Linked DNA regions of Homo sapiens: region 2 is linked to region 1. Evidence: promoter capture Hi-C in human tissues and cell types (Jung and others, 2019). All regions are on one chromosome and are shown on one strand. Each heading gives the region's core, a stretch centred on a gene start or on the middle of the fragment in contact. The rest is flanking DNA. Distances are from core to core; before and after follow the strand shown.

What was found. The method cuts DNA at HindIII sites, captures the fragments that hold promoters and counts their contacts. A contact is called where the count stands out against the background at its distance.
Region 2: a fragment that was not itself captured here is called in contact with the fragment with the promoter of TMEM132C in region 1 in 2 of the 25 tissues and cell types used here (H1 embryonic stem cells and stomach).

The regions. Positions count from the first base shown.
Region 1 is chr12:128,263,554-128,270,209 of GRCh38, reverse strand. TMEM132C (transmembrane protein 132C) reads right to left here and starts at 3,040. Exons shown (of 9, transcript NM_001136103.3): 1 at 2,723-3,040. The coding sequence starts at 2,807. It overlaps LOC107987176 (a long non-coding RNA gene), which reads left to right and starts at 3,178. Exons shown (of 2, transcript XR_001749176.1): 1 at 3,178-3,639; 2 at 6,437-6,656. RefSeq lists enhancers at 1,999-2,837, 3,373-3,894. The HindIII fragment of the contact is 10,344 bases long and covers 1-4,911 here.
Region 2 is chr12:128,207,835-128,214,556 of GRCh38, reverse strand. No RefSeq gene overlaps it. Among named protein-coding and RNA genes, the nearest start is that of TMEM132C, 56 kb to the left of the region's middle. The HindIII fragment of the contact is 4,855 bases long and covers 2,199-6,722 here.

The sequences.
Region 1 (6,656 bases), core at 1,791-4,290:
CCCACATAACCTTCCCAGAAGGTCTCATATGTGACTAACAACCATCACTAAACTTCCGAGGGCATCTCAGCCTGGCACCGCCCTTCCACTTGCTTTATACAGGCGCAATACATCAACCTCTAATTCAAGGATGTTTTGCCTCTCCTGCCTCGGCCCAAGTCTTAAATCTTAGGAAAAGATTTCTTTCTTTCAATGCCCTGTCCTATTTATGGAACCTCCCAAGAACAATTCTGCCTTTTCCGAACCCTGACAAATTGCAAAGCCTCTAAATCCACAGTCAAAAATAAACAGACAATTGGTATTAAAAATTAATCAGTGGTTTCAAGGATTCCAGAAATCAGCACTTAAATCCGTGTGCAGGAAGAGACAGAGATGGCTTTTTTTTTTTAAAGACAGCAGAAATGTAAACAAGGTCAGCAAACTTTCCTCTCTAGAAGATATCTTACGGTGCAAACGCTTTACGTGTGGAGGAATCCGAGGGGGGAATGAACTGCTGCTTTTGATCATGAGAAACAAACGGAAAATGTATTTTGCAGATGATAAGTTGCAGGCCCTTATGCACCCCCAAATCACGTGGTGAACTTTGTAAAGCAAAAAGCAGGGAAAGAAAGCCCCATCAAATCAAGGTTGCACTTAGCTAGAGGGCAGAGGCGGTTTGGGATAGGGGTGGGGCTTCGCTACGTCCCTAGTTTTCAGCACTTTCCCTTGTTGTGCAAATATCAGCTTCAAATCCAGTCCCAGTTGCCTTTCCAGCCAAATCACTGCCCCCAGCACTGAACACATGGACATCTGTAACAGCCACTCTCGTAATCAAAAGTAAAATCCTCTGGATACACACACACACACACACACACACACACACGGAATGTGAGCCTTAATGAAGAACAGTCCACACTTGCTTTAAAGGGAACATCCAGTTCGCCTGGTTAAATTCTCTCAAGGGCAAGGGGTGAAAACCCGGAGGAGGTCGGTCACGCCCTGCTCAATTAGCACCGCCTTCCTCTGCAAAGTGCTTTACTACCCATTCAGTCATTTTATCAACAAAAAACTGCTGGGAGGTAGGTTGGGAAGGGAATTCTTCAATGGCCACTTTGCATCTAGGAAAACTGAATCCTAGAAACGCTGGAACCTAGAGCTAATTAACAGCAGAATTCAGGCACCAGATCGTGACTGTTGACTCTTTCAAATAAAATAGAAAAGTGCCCCCCTCTCCTACTCCTCCACCCCCGACTTGCCCCCCCTTTCCCTCGTCTCTCACCCCCTTTCCCCCCTCTCTCGCCCCACCCTCTCTTTCCCTCTTCTCTCACTCCTTCTTCCCCCCCCTCTCTCACCCCACCCTCCTCCCTACCTGGAGCTCTTGGAAGAAAGGAACACTTATATAAAACATAGCAAACTTGTCTGGTTGGTGTATCTGGGAAAGCGCAGCCTCAAGGAAAGTAGATTTTTCTGGATTTTCAGGCGGTGCAGAATGACTTTTGAAAAGCAAACGCTACTTTTAAACCTCCATTGACAACTTGTCTCTCTGAACGCATTTCTAGCTCAGCCTCAGAGCATTAGGCGGGAGAAGGGTGGCTTTGAGTGTTCTCTGCTCAGAGCCTGGGGCCGATACTGGACCCGCGGCGCCGCGCGAAGGCTCAGGGCACCCATGTGCGCACCTCCGTTTAACCAAATGAACCCGAGACCTTCGCCAGGGCGCGGGGAGCAGGAAAGCGACGCTCTCCTTTTTCTACGCCCTGGGCGCGCCCCGGGACTCGGGCAGCTGCTGCCCTGGCAGAGCCTAGGCCTTGCTCCCCGCCTGCCCCGCGGCTCCTGGGGCTGGAGACCGCCTCTCCCCGCCCTTCCCGCCGCCGCATCCGCGCGGCCACTCGGCCGCACACGCACATAATAAAAAAGGTCGGAAAAACCACACGGCTACCTTTCGTGAGCCCTGCGGGCGCCATACGTTAACTCCTTTAAATTCCTCCAACCCAAAGCAGGGCCGTCACTCCCATTGTAGAGAAGAGGACACTGAGGTGAAGGAGCCCCGGACAGGACCGCTGGTGAGGTAGTTCCCGTCGCGAGGGACGCACCCACCTCCCCATCCGCGCTCCCCCACCGCAAAGGACTCATTTGAGAGAACCCGCAGAGAGCCCCTGGTTTCTGCCAAGCTGGGGTCCCTGGTGAGCTGCGCGATGAGTGAGCGTTCCTCTAGGGCCCGCACAGAGACCCTAGCGGTTGCGGAAAGGGGATGCAAAGAACCGGGCCTTCCCTCCTGGAGCACCAGCCCCACAGTGCCGAAGCTGTGGATGGGGAGCTGTGGACAGGGAGCACACAGCCGGGAGGAAGGAGCGCACAGAGCGGAGCACCTCTCCTGGATGCCAGTTCCACAGGGTGACTGTGCTGGGGCTGGGGCAGGTCCGCACGGAACTCAGGGATGGGGAACAAACACCGTGTCCCTCAGCCACGCCCCCTCCTCATCCGCGGGGCAGCTCTGGGTCTGGGGGGTCCGGGGTGGGAGATTCGGGACTCGGGACCAGCCTAACTTGCCCGGATCCCGGCGCCCAGCTGGGAGCGCCCTTCTGGATTAGGGGCGGCTCGGCACCCGCAGAGGCGCTGTTGATGGGATCCGAGCCCCCGCCGAGGCCCCCGCCGCACCCCTCGCTTCGGCTGCCCTCACCCCGAGCTCCCCCGGAACCGGGAAGTTCGCATGCGTCGGCGCGCCAGGCACCCGCCCCGGCCTTACCTTTGCCCAGCAGCGCGCCCAGCAGCAGGCTCAGCGCCCCGCACAGCGGCGCCGCCGGCCCGGGGGCCGCACCCTCGGAGCGCATCCTGCGTCCCGGCCGCTCACGCAGCCCGCCGCCAGCCCGAAGCGCAGCGCCCGCCCGCGGCCCCCGCCGGCCGCCCCATGCCCGGGGCCACTCCCGCAGCCCGGTCGGCCGGGCCCGCTGCGTCTCTGCTGTCCGAGGCCCGCCCCTGCCGGGTCCACGCCGCCGCAGCTCCGGCTCTGGCTCTGGCGGCTCCGGCTCCGCCGCTGCTCGCGCTCCGGCCGGGACAACTTTTCTCCCGCAGCCTCCGCAGCCTCCGCAGCCGCCGGCCCGCCCCGCCCCCGGCCCCGCCCCCGCCCCCGCCCGGGCCCCGCCCCCGCCGAGCCCCGCGACCGCGGACAGATTGAGGGTGCGGTAGGAGAGAGTTCGCCTGCCCGCCGGGAGGGGCGGCAGATGGAGAACCCCCCCGCCCGGGCTAGGGAGGGTGTGCCCGGGAAAGAAGACCGGGAGAGGAGGGGGCGTCTCCCCAGGCGGCTGGGACGGCTCCTCCGGGGGTCCGCGCCTTTCCAGAGAAACTCAGCGTTCGCAGACTCCTGCCCGGGTGCCCAACGGACAGCGGCCCGTGGCCCGGAGGGTCCTGCCCAGGGACCCGACGCTCAAGGCGGAGCTGGACTCCTTCTCCCCACCCTCCCGTGGTCACTGCGGGACCTGGTGGTCGTCACGCCCCATTCCTCAACTTCAGGTGGCCGCTGCTTTAGCCTGGAGGGCTGGGGACATCTGGAATGCAAAGTCCCGCGCAGCTGCTGCGGGGAGAGCTCCTAACTGGATCACTGAGCGCGGAAAAGCAGCGCGCAGCGGAGCGTGAAGGCGGGGTGCGGGCTCAAGACAGATGCGGGTGTGCACCTGTGCGTGTGCGGAGGGGGCGAGGCACGAGATCACAGCGGTGTCTCTGGGAAGGGGACGAGAACGCAGAGGGGAAGAAAGGATCATTTTTCACTGCATGTCTGTGGGGCTTCCACTCCCCAATCATCTCCCCGCCGCCCATAGCATGTGTTTTATTATCTTTTCAGTGGGTGGAGAATAGCCCCTCTCTAGACTTGCTCCTGCAATAGGCAATTTCTCTGCAGACTCAGACAAGGAAGATCCGCCCTCCCCCCCCCCCCCCCGACTTCGTTCTCTCTATCTTTTCCCTCTGATTTCTCCAGGGCTGGCCTCCCTCATGGTGGTGATCCCAGGTGATCTCAGCGGCTTCCCTGTGCGGTTCCTGATGCTCATGCTCTGCTCTTTCTGCCACGCGTGGTCTGAGCAGTTTGAGGGCGGGACCCCGACTCCCCCCTTGTGACTGGGAATGAAGGGCCATGGGTTCGGAGGTCTCTGGACGTCCCCTCCTGTCCTGAGCTCCTCACCACGGGCTCAGCATCCCCTCTCACCGTGGGCTGGCTCGGTCCAACATCAAAAGGAAGCCTGAGGGGTCTTTTCTCACCATCAGTGCAGGAAAGAATTTCAAAAGAAAAAAAGAAGTCCTTGATTGAAAGAAAAGAAATGTAAACGAATGATCCCCAGCAACTGCAACCCCAAGTCTTATCTCCCAACTCAGCCCCTAAGGAATGAGCCAGGCATAAGGAGAAATTGGGGCGGGGTGGGGCGAAGGCTTTGCAGGGCACTGGCCAGAGTGGGAGGCTCTCTCCTGGGGTGGGGCCCGGAAGTCTGGGCCAGGCTGGGGGGAGATGTCTCCCTGGTTTTCTTGGCCGGCTCTACTCACATGATGTGAGGAGAAGGCAGCTTGAAAACTATCCAGGCCCCAAAGGGAACGGTAAAAGCTTGATTCTCATAGGCCTGGATAGCAGAGACTTGATTTTTAAAGTGGATTATGCTGATAATCGCCCAATTCTTCAGTACATTCAGCTAGTGTAGACCTGACCTTGGGGGCAGGGGGCAGTTGTAAAGTAGATTTGGGCTCCTAAAACGGAAGGTACGTTTTATTCTCAGTGCTTTGAGCCTGAACATCACCGGGGAATAATTTTTTTTTCATTTAAATGTTCCCAGCATGAGGGAGAAATACACATGTCCCATTGTTTGTAACTGAGGATGGGAATCTGCCTTATCCTCTCTCCTCCCTATTGGATAACAGGGACAAAAAATAAAAACCCAAAGAAGTGCCCTCCACTCCCCTGTTCTATGCAGCCTCATAATGTACCTTCTTTCCACATCATTTCTTTCCTTTTGGCACAGAACATTGCTGTCCCTACTGCAAAGACAAGTCAGGTCCTGGACTACATCTCTGTGATGCAAATAATCAAAACCAGGGGCTACCAAACAAGCCACAGCAAAATAAATACTAATTCAACATGGGGTTGGAGTGGGGAAAGGATTCTCAATCAGATAAGCTCACTGCACAGCACCCCAAAGGCAGCCACTGTCTTCAGGTGATCCTGAATCACAGATGCCCCTTGAGACTATGATGCCTCCGGGCATCCCCTGTGAGAGCCTTCAGGAGACCCAGCAAATGAAAGCTTCTCTGCAAACCTTCCTTTAGGACTCCATTTAATCTATTGCGTGTCCCTCTCAAGAGCAGTCAAACAAACATGCACACAAAACTGAACAAACAAATAAAACAGATGATATAGTCAATTTCTCTTTCATAGGTAAATCCACAAAAATTGAGGTTCATGGGCTAATAAAGTTTTCTGTATTTATTTTTTTTAAGTCATGTATCATTTAACCCCCAAATCATTAATTCCTTAACTTAGATTACTTCCAGATGGTTTTCTGAATTTCATAAGGAACATCAGAGGCTTCTAATCTCCTCAAAGGCTGTTGCAGAATTCCTTAAGGACTGTGGGCACATGGAAGCACTTAACATAATTTATGGGAGAGGAGAATGATTGGAAAGAGGAAACCTGCTGCTTCCACAGGGTTTCAGGGTTCCTAAGTCAATGAGGCAACTTCAGATTGTTTTGTTCATGCTTAAATGTTAAATTGTGAATATCGCATAAAATGAGGGGTGGAACTTGTGATTTTAGTTCAAAGGCTTCTTGCATTGTCTACCTGTAGACGGGACATATGGGTATATATTGCCGAGGACATGGAAAAGAAAGGCTATATGTTGGCCTCATGAAACAGCTATGGTCATCCCGCAAACTGAGTATCAAGTCCTGACTATGGTGCTTACTATTAGCGATTAAAAAATGAGGAAGAAGGAAAAAAGGGAGAAAAATGATAGAAAGGTCTATGCTTAGTTCTGTGTCCTGTCATTGTTCTTAAAACATATAGGCACTATCTGATTTAATCCTCTTCACACTCGTGGGGTGTATTATTATTATCCTTGGACATTTTATTCATTCATTCATTCATTTAACAAATAGGTGTCACTTGCTTACTATTTGTCAGGCCCAAATTTTGGGGTTTTGCCAGTGAACAAAATAGACGAGAGTCCTAAATTCATGGACCTTACATTCTAGTGGAGGATGCAGACTCTAAAGTAATATACAAGTAATTGTATCTGTTAATGCAGTGATATGTGTTGTGAACAAAAATAAAGCAAAATAAGGGAAAAGTCTGATTTGGGGGTGCAACTTTAGGAAGGTGGGTGAAGTGAGAGCAATTTTTGGGAAAAGAGCTTCTCAGGCTGATAAAAATGAAAGTGCAAAGACACTAAGCTGGAGTCCTGAAAGGTCTTATTTTTCTTTCAGAAGGATCACTCTGGCCAATTGTAGACCACAGCCTATAGGAGTAGCCAAGGAAGCCTGAAGTCTAATTAAGAGCTGGTTCAAGGCACCCAGGAGTCTTGGATGCTTGCACTGGAGTAAGAGGAGCAAAGCTGTGAAGTCGAGACAAGGACCAGTTAATGATGCCTAGTGGAAGTGAAGCCAGCAGGATGTGCTGATGGATGGGTGTGGACTGTGGGAGGGA
Region 2 (6,722 bases), core at 3,377-5,876, 57 kb after region 1:
AGATGTGCAGAAACAGGGGTAATTGCTTCTGAAATGGAAAGTTTTGCAAACAACTATATCACTATTAACAGTGAAGAGCATTACCATTTTTTTATTTCGACTTTTTGATAGGGTGAAATGTCCTTTGGAATGTACAGTGGAAGATCAGCAGCAGCATCTCTGCTGCTTGAACAATATGTTGCATATTGCTTCATATTTTTGCATGTTACATTGTTGCATGTTGTTTCATAGTGTTGCACGTTGTTTCATAGTGCTGCATATTGTTTTCATATTGCTGCATGTTGTTTCATATCGTTGCATGCTATATTGTTTTGTTTCATATTGTTGCATGTTATACTGTTGCATACTGTTTTATATTGTTGCATGTTATTTCATATTGTCACATGTTATATTGTTGCACATTGTTTCATATTGTTTCATATTGTTGCATGTTGTTTCATATTGTTGCATATTGTGTCATATTGTTGCATGTTCTATTGTTTTGTTTCATATTGTTGCATGTTGTTTCATAGTGTTACATGTTGTTTCGTATTATTGCATATTGTTTTCATATTGTCTTATATTGTTGCATGTTGTTTTATATTGTTTCATACTGTTGCATGTTATACTGTTGCATACTGTTTTATATTGTTGCATGTTATTTCATATTGTCACATGTTATATTGTTGCACATTGTTTTATACTGTTGCATGTTGTTTCATATTGTTGCATATTGTTTCTTCAGCAGAACAGCTTGAGGTTTTGAGAAAACAGACTTTTAACTCAAGATACTTTGACAAACAAATGCCTGACCAGAAAGTTGTTTAATTTTTTTCTATCCAAATCTCTTAAAAGGGGAAGGATTTATAACAGAATCACTACAAAATTGGCTGTGTGTGTCCCTAGGACATTGCGGTCCTTTGGCTAAGATCAATGAGAAGAGACACTTCTCACGATGAAATAGGCAGGAGAGGTGGTGGGGAGTCTAGTTTAAAATCTTAAAATATTTCTCACGAGTGTGAGGTTCAGAGTCTATGTGACTCTCACCCTCCTCAATTTTATTTTGTTTTCAGGAAACTTCTATCAACTCAGAAACCCTTCTAGGCACTGGATATGCCTTCCCCATATTCCATTTGGTCCCTCCTACCAAAACAATCAACACCCAGTAATGATGCAGCTGTGCTGATCCTTAGGTCTTGGGTATCCTAACAGCCTGGTGTGAGCTGATCTGCAATATGATTAAGCACTTTTCAACTGGCCCCAAGTTTTAGAAGATCCTCAGCCTTGTACTTGGAGGATTAATACATTCAGTGCTGGCTAGTCACATTTTGAATAAGATTTTTCTCTCTCTTTAAATGTCACCTCTTCTAATGCATAACCTTATAGTTGTTTATAGGTCATGAGCTATGAAAGTCTAGCCCAAAGCTTACTCATTACACTTGAGTTGAGTGGAATTAAAAGGCTGGACTAGATAAGCATGAGACATTTAATTTAAAAGTTAGATTTTCTTAAAAACTTAGAAGAAATATCTTTTTTCTTTGACAAATTAATGTATGTTAATGGAAAAAGAGGGGAGTATGCTTCATCCATTTAGTCTAAAGGATTTATCAGCAACATAAACAGTCTTCTTTTTTGGAAGGAGGTCAGGTATAAATGCAAGCCTGTCCCAAGGGACCTTCTCTCTTTTGGCTTCAGGGAAAGCCTCCAATAGCTCCTGGACAAGACTTGACGTTCACCCTCCCCTCCTCTTCTTCTCTCAGCCCTTACGCATCTGTTGGTGTGGGCTTGCCCTGTGTGACTTCCTCCTCCATCAATATTTCATCAACAGCTTTTACTGACCGTGCTTTAAAATCCACCATGCTGGTGGAAATAGTTCCAAGTTGAGAGAACCGAGAGGCCTCAGAAGTGTCTTGTTTCTGTGATTGCCTGAATCTCAGGCCAGGCATTTGCCATCTGGGCCTCAGTGTCCCATCTTTATAATAAATTAATTACACAAGATGAGCACCAAGGCTGCTTCCAGTGCTGCCATGCCTTGATTCCAATTTATAAATAATTTCAGCACCTCATAAAGTGAATCTAAATTCTCAGCCTGTAATTCTCAGGCATGGTCAGACAGACTCATGACGGCCTCATCTTAAAAGTTTTAAAAATGTTAAAAGAAGACTAATTTAAAGTTGAGCCCTGAAATTTCTATTTTGGAATTTCAACCTCCTCCTTCACATTCTGTAAGACCATTTTTTTTCTTAATCATTGGGATTAAGGGCAATAAAGTGGGACTGAAGGAAATGAGTGTCCATTTGGGGACAACCAAGTGCTGCAAGGGTTGCTGGAATGGCTGTGGCTCTGAACAATCAGGTTTATCAAGTATACAGACATCTTGGAGTCAAGAGTGCCTGTCAAATCTCAGACCCAACACTTACAGTGTCAGGGTACTAATACATGGCAGTGACTTGTTTAGACCTGGGTTGTCTGCCCCACATTAGGGCTCACAGGGAGGAAATTCCATTTTGAATATATTGAATGACAAAGGAAAGATTTGGAACTTTAAATGCAAATTCATGCGCACTGACAAGAAAATTCGGATAGCAGCAACAGTCAAGCATTGGCCATTGCCCCCATCTTGTGTTCCCTCCATTCTGCAATGTCCAAGGAGACGATGAATCCATACACTTGTGCACCCAGAAGCTCAGTAAGTTGATCTTGAGAAAAGGAATCAGATCTGTCAGTTTCTGGCCCTCGGTCCTAGTTGAGTGAATGGTGTTCTCCAAAATTTATGTCCACCTAGAAACTCAGAATGAGACTTTATTTGGAAACAGGGCTGTTGCACCTGTAACTAAGGTAAGAGTAGGTGATACTGGATTGGGACAGGCCCTAAACTCAATCATCACTGTCAAGATAAGAAGAGGAGAAGACATGAAGAAGTGGAAGAAGGTCATGGGAAGATGGAGACAGAGATTGGAGTGAGGCAGCCACAAATCAAGCGTTGCTGAGGATTGCCAGGAGTCCAAGAAGCTTGGAAGAAACAAGGGAGGGGTCTTTCCTTGAGCCTTTGGAGGTGGAATGGCCGTTGCACCATCTTGATTTTAGACTTCTAGCCTTCCAAATTGTGAGGAAACATTAAACCCATTAACATGGAATATGGTAAGCCTATGACCCAGTTTCTGGCAATTGACTATAGTTGCCCTGGGAAATTAACACACTTTTCCCAGCCCAGAAACCCAAACCTGGCTCAAGGTTTGTGTGTGGTGCAGACATCATAGCACCTCCTTCTACACTTTCAGATCCTCTTTTTCCTCACTCCCTCACTAACACTCCTTCCTTCTTGTGTTTTAAGCAGATTCACCTGAAACATGCCTTTGACGTTTATCCTGAGTCACTTTTCTATTAGAGGTTACCATTTCAGAAAAAAAAGGCAACAACAGAAAGATATGAATGGCTTGAATCTTAGCAGATTTATAAAATTTAAATTCAGAAAAATATATCAGAGATATAGAAACATTCTGCCTTCTGTGATAGATAGTCTTCAAATACAGTCATCAATAATCCCATCTAAGAAGTCTGAGTTTGCAGAGACCTCCATACTGAAAGGAACCTTAAGCTGCTTTCCTGGAGAAGCACTGGTGCTTCAGATATGCAGTCCCACCATGTGAATGACCCTGACCAATGCCATGGGAGCAGAAGAACCGCCCAGGAGAGCCCTGTCCAAATTCCAGTGAAATAATACACTGAGAAATGATAAATCATAAATCATCAGAAATAATAAGTTACTTTATGCCTCTAAGTATTCAAGTGACATGGCAATCAATATGCAAAGCAACACCTGTTCAAATTCTACAAAATTGGGAGAATGATAAGTTTTTCATGAGTACAATTCTCTCTGCCTTAGGATGGTCATTCTGGGGCTAAGAATATCCTTGATCAGTTAACATTGACTTTAGACAGTTGAATGAGAAATCACTTTGGATCAGTGGTTTTTGGCTAGGAGTGGCTTTGTCCCCTCAGGTCATATTTGACAATGTCTGAAGACATTTTTCTTTTTTTTTGGTCTCATCTGGGAGAGTTGGTGCTGGTGGGTAGAGGCCAAGGATCCTGCTAAACATTCTGCAATACACAGGATCGTTCTCCCCAGCAGAGAATCATCTGTCCTCAAATGTCAACAGCACATCATAAATATAAATTCCAGTAGAATATGATAATAAATATAAACAGGGCTGAGGTTAAGGATCCCAGTTTTGGATCATATGGTCCTGTATATATAGTTTTTGCATTTAATTCTATATATTTGACAATTACCACACTTATATAATTTGTAAAATTCCCCTTCTAGCCTTCTAAAAATATAATCTTGTTGATCAACACCTGGTAGAGATTGTAAAATAAAAATAAATAAATAAGGAAAGACATACACTTAAGAACTGAAGTGGTTTGTGTGTGTGTGTGTGTGTGTGTGTGTGTGTTAGCATTGGCTGGGAAAACTGTGTAGAAGTTTTAAACACAAAGTGATATTTTGTAACTGTACTTGTAGTTAATTATGAGAAACTTTTTTTTCCAATTGAGTAATTAAAATTAAACATAAGCCAGGTGGTTTGTAGATATGTTAAGGTTGTTGTATTTGCTACAGATGTGAAGGAATATGGAGCTAAAAAGGCTGATGTCGTTGAAAGCTGGGGTACCAAAACACCTTGATAATGAAGTGCTTTGTCCCACCACTAGGCACCAAGCGCCTGTGATAATGAGAACTTCTGATGTTGAGGGCTAGCAGTGCTGGTCAGGGATTCCCTTTGAAGCCATGTGGTTCCTTCCTATGCAGCCATCTGCAGGTGGGGCCAGAGAGCTCAGTGGCAGGACTTGGGGGCCAGGTCAGAGAGCAGAGCTGCCATGTCTCAGACACCAAATATGACACCAACTCCTGCAAGATGGGAATGGTGGATGAATCTCAGGCTTCCCCTGTCTGACTTTGGGGACCAGTTCTAGCCCAGATGAGAGAAATCGATGAGGCATGAAATGAAATACTTGTGTCAATGACAAAAAAAGTCAGTGTTGCATTGTGTTGGATTCAACATGAAGAAAAATAAATAGAAGCATCAATATATCAAAGTAAAAAATGTGTGTTCAATCTTTATTTGTTCTGCTGAGAGAATACTAAACATGCAAATTACCTTTAAAAATTGTAAAGTGGTTAAATTGTATATAAATATTGAAAGGGAAAATACTGTTGTTGGCTTTAATTATGGACATTAATTGCATGCACATAGGAGGTGAGTCCTTTTTATGTTTGCCTGAATTCTGGCATCACCACTAGCTCATATGGTACTTATGAAAAATTTTTAAAATTCTGGTTCTTCCTGATGACACTTTTCCTACTATCTGTGAGAAAATTGTTTTAGTACACTGAGTCTAAACCTCACAGCCATTGGGGGGTAAACTTTTCATAACAAATGCTATATTTTATCAAATTGAAGTTTCTTTTGATTGTCAGAATTATCAGTATTTTACAAACCACCAGTGAAAAAATGCTGCCAGTTACAAGTGCCAGATGCCATTGCTTTAAAATGTTTCCAAATTATAGGACTGTTAAAGTATGGGGAAAAAATGTATCTTGGAACTGGTGACTCAGGTATTGCAAATCTATAATATTGATTGATTGTGAATATTGGCCCTTTATATAGGGTGGTGCTGTGCAGTGCACAACATGGACAGCCATTAGTGGTGGCCCTGTTGAGTATTAGAATTTAGAATCAATATTCCTCTGCCTTTCCAGATTCTGGTATTTGTTGATTTCATGAATCCTTCCCAAGACAGGCTACAAGCATTAGACCAGCAGGAACAATGAAAGTCATGAGTGAGACAGAACACAGCTTCCAGGGTTCTGAGTGTGGGTTCTGCAGTACACACATCCTCAGTTTGAGGAATGAGGGAGTCTCTTTAGACTTTGAAGGAGGCCACACCTGCTGTGCCACTTCCCAGCTGTGTGGCCTCAGGAAACTCCCGGAGCCTCAGCTTCCTCAGTTATGTAAATGTCCATGATAACAATACACACCTGTGCCAGGGGTCTCTGAGCCCACCCATAGACTAGGTAATTCTCTAGGAAGACTCCTAGGACTCATCATATAGTCATACTTAGAGCTATGACTTATTACAGTGAAAGGATACAGAGTAAAATCAGCAAAGGGAAAAAGTGCATGGGGTAAAGTCCAGGGGAGACCAGGCACAAACTCCCAAGACTCTTCTCCCCCTGTGAAGTCGCACAGGATGCACTTGTTTCCTCCAGCAAATGAGTTGTCACAACATGTGCAAAATGTTACCTATCAGGGAAACTCTTTAGAAACTCAGTGTCCAGGGTTTTTATTGGGGATGAGTCAAGTAGACATCTTCTCTCTGCTATGCACCAAAAATTCAGACTCCAAGAAAGAAAGCAGGTGTTGAGTAAGACTGGACAAACTGTAGACACAATTCAATGGCAGTGAGCCACCTTATCATTTAGGATAAGTTTTATGTCAGTGTAGGGAGATGATGACCAGTCAATTTGCCAGATGCCAGCCTAGGTCCAGCCTTGCAAGCAGATCTTTTCCAAGGATAGCAGGCACAGCTCTTCTGTGCCAACTCCTTTCTTCCCAACCTCCCTCAGGGTTATTTGCAGATTTAATAAAATATTCCATGCAAAGGCCGGGCACGGTGGCTCATGCCTGTAATTCCAGCACTTTGGGAGGCTGAGGCAGGCAGATCACGAGGTCAGAAGATCG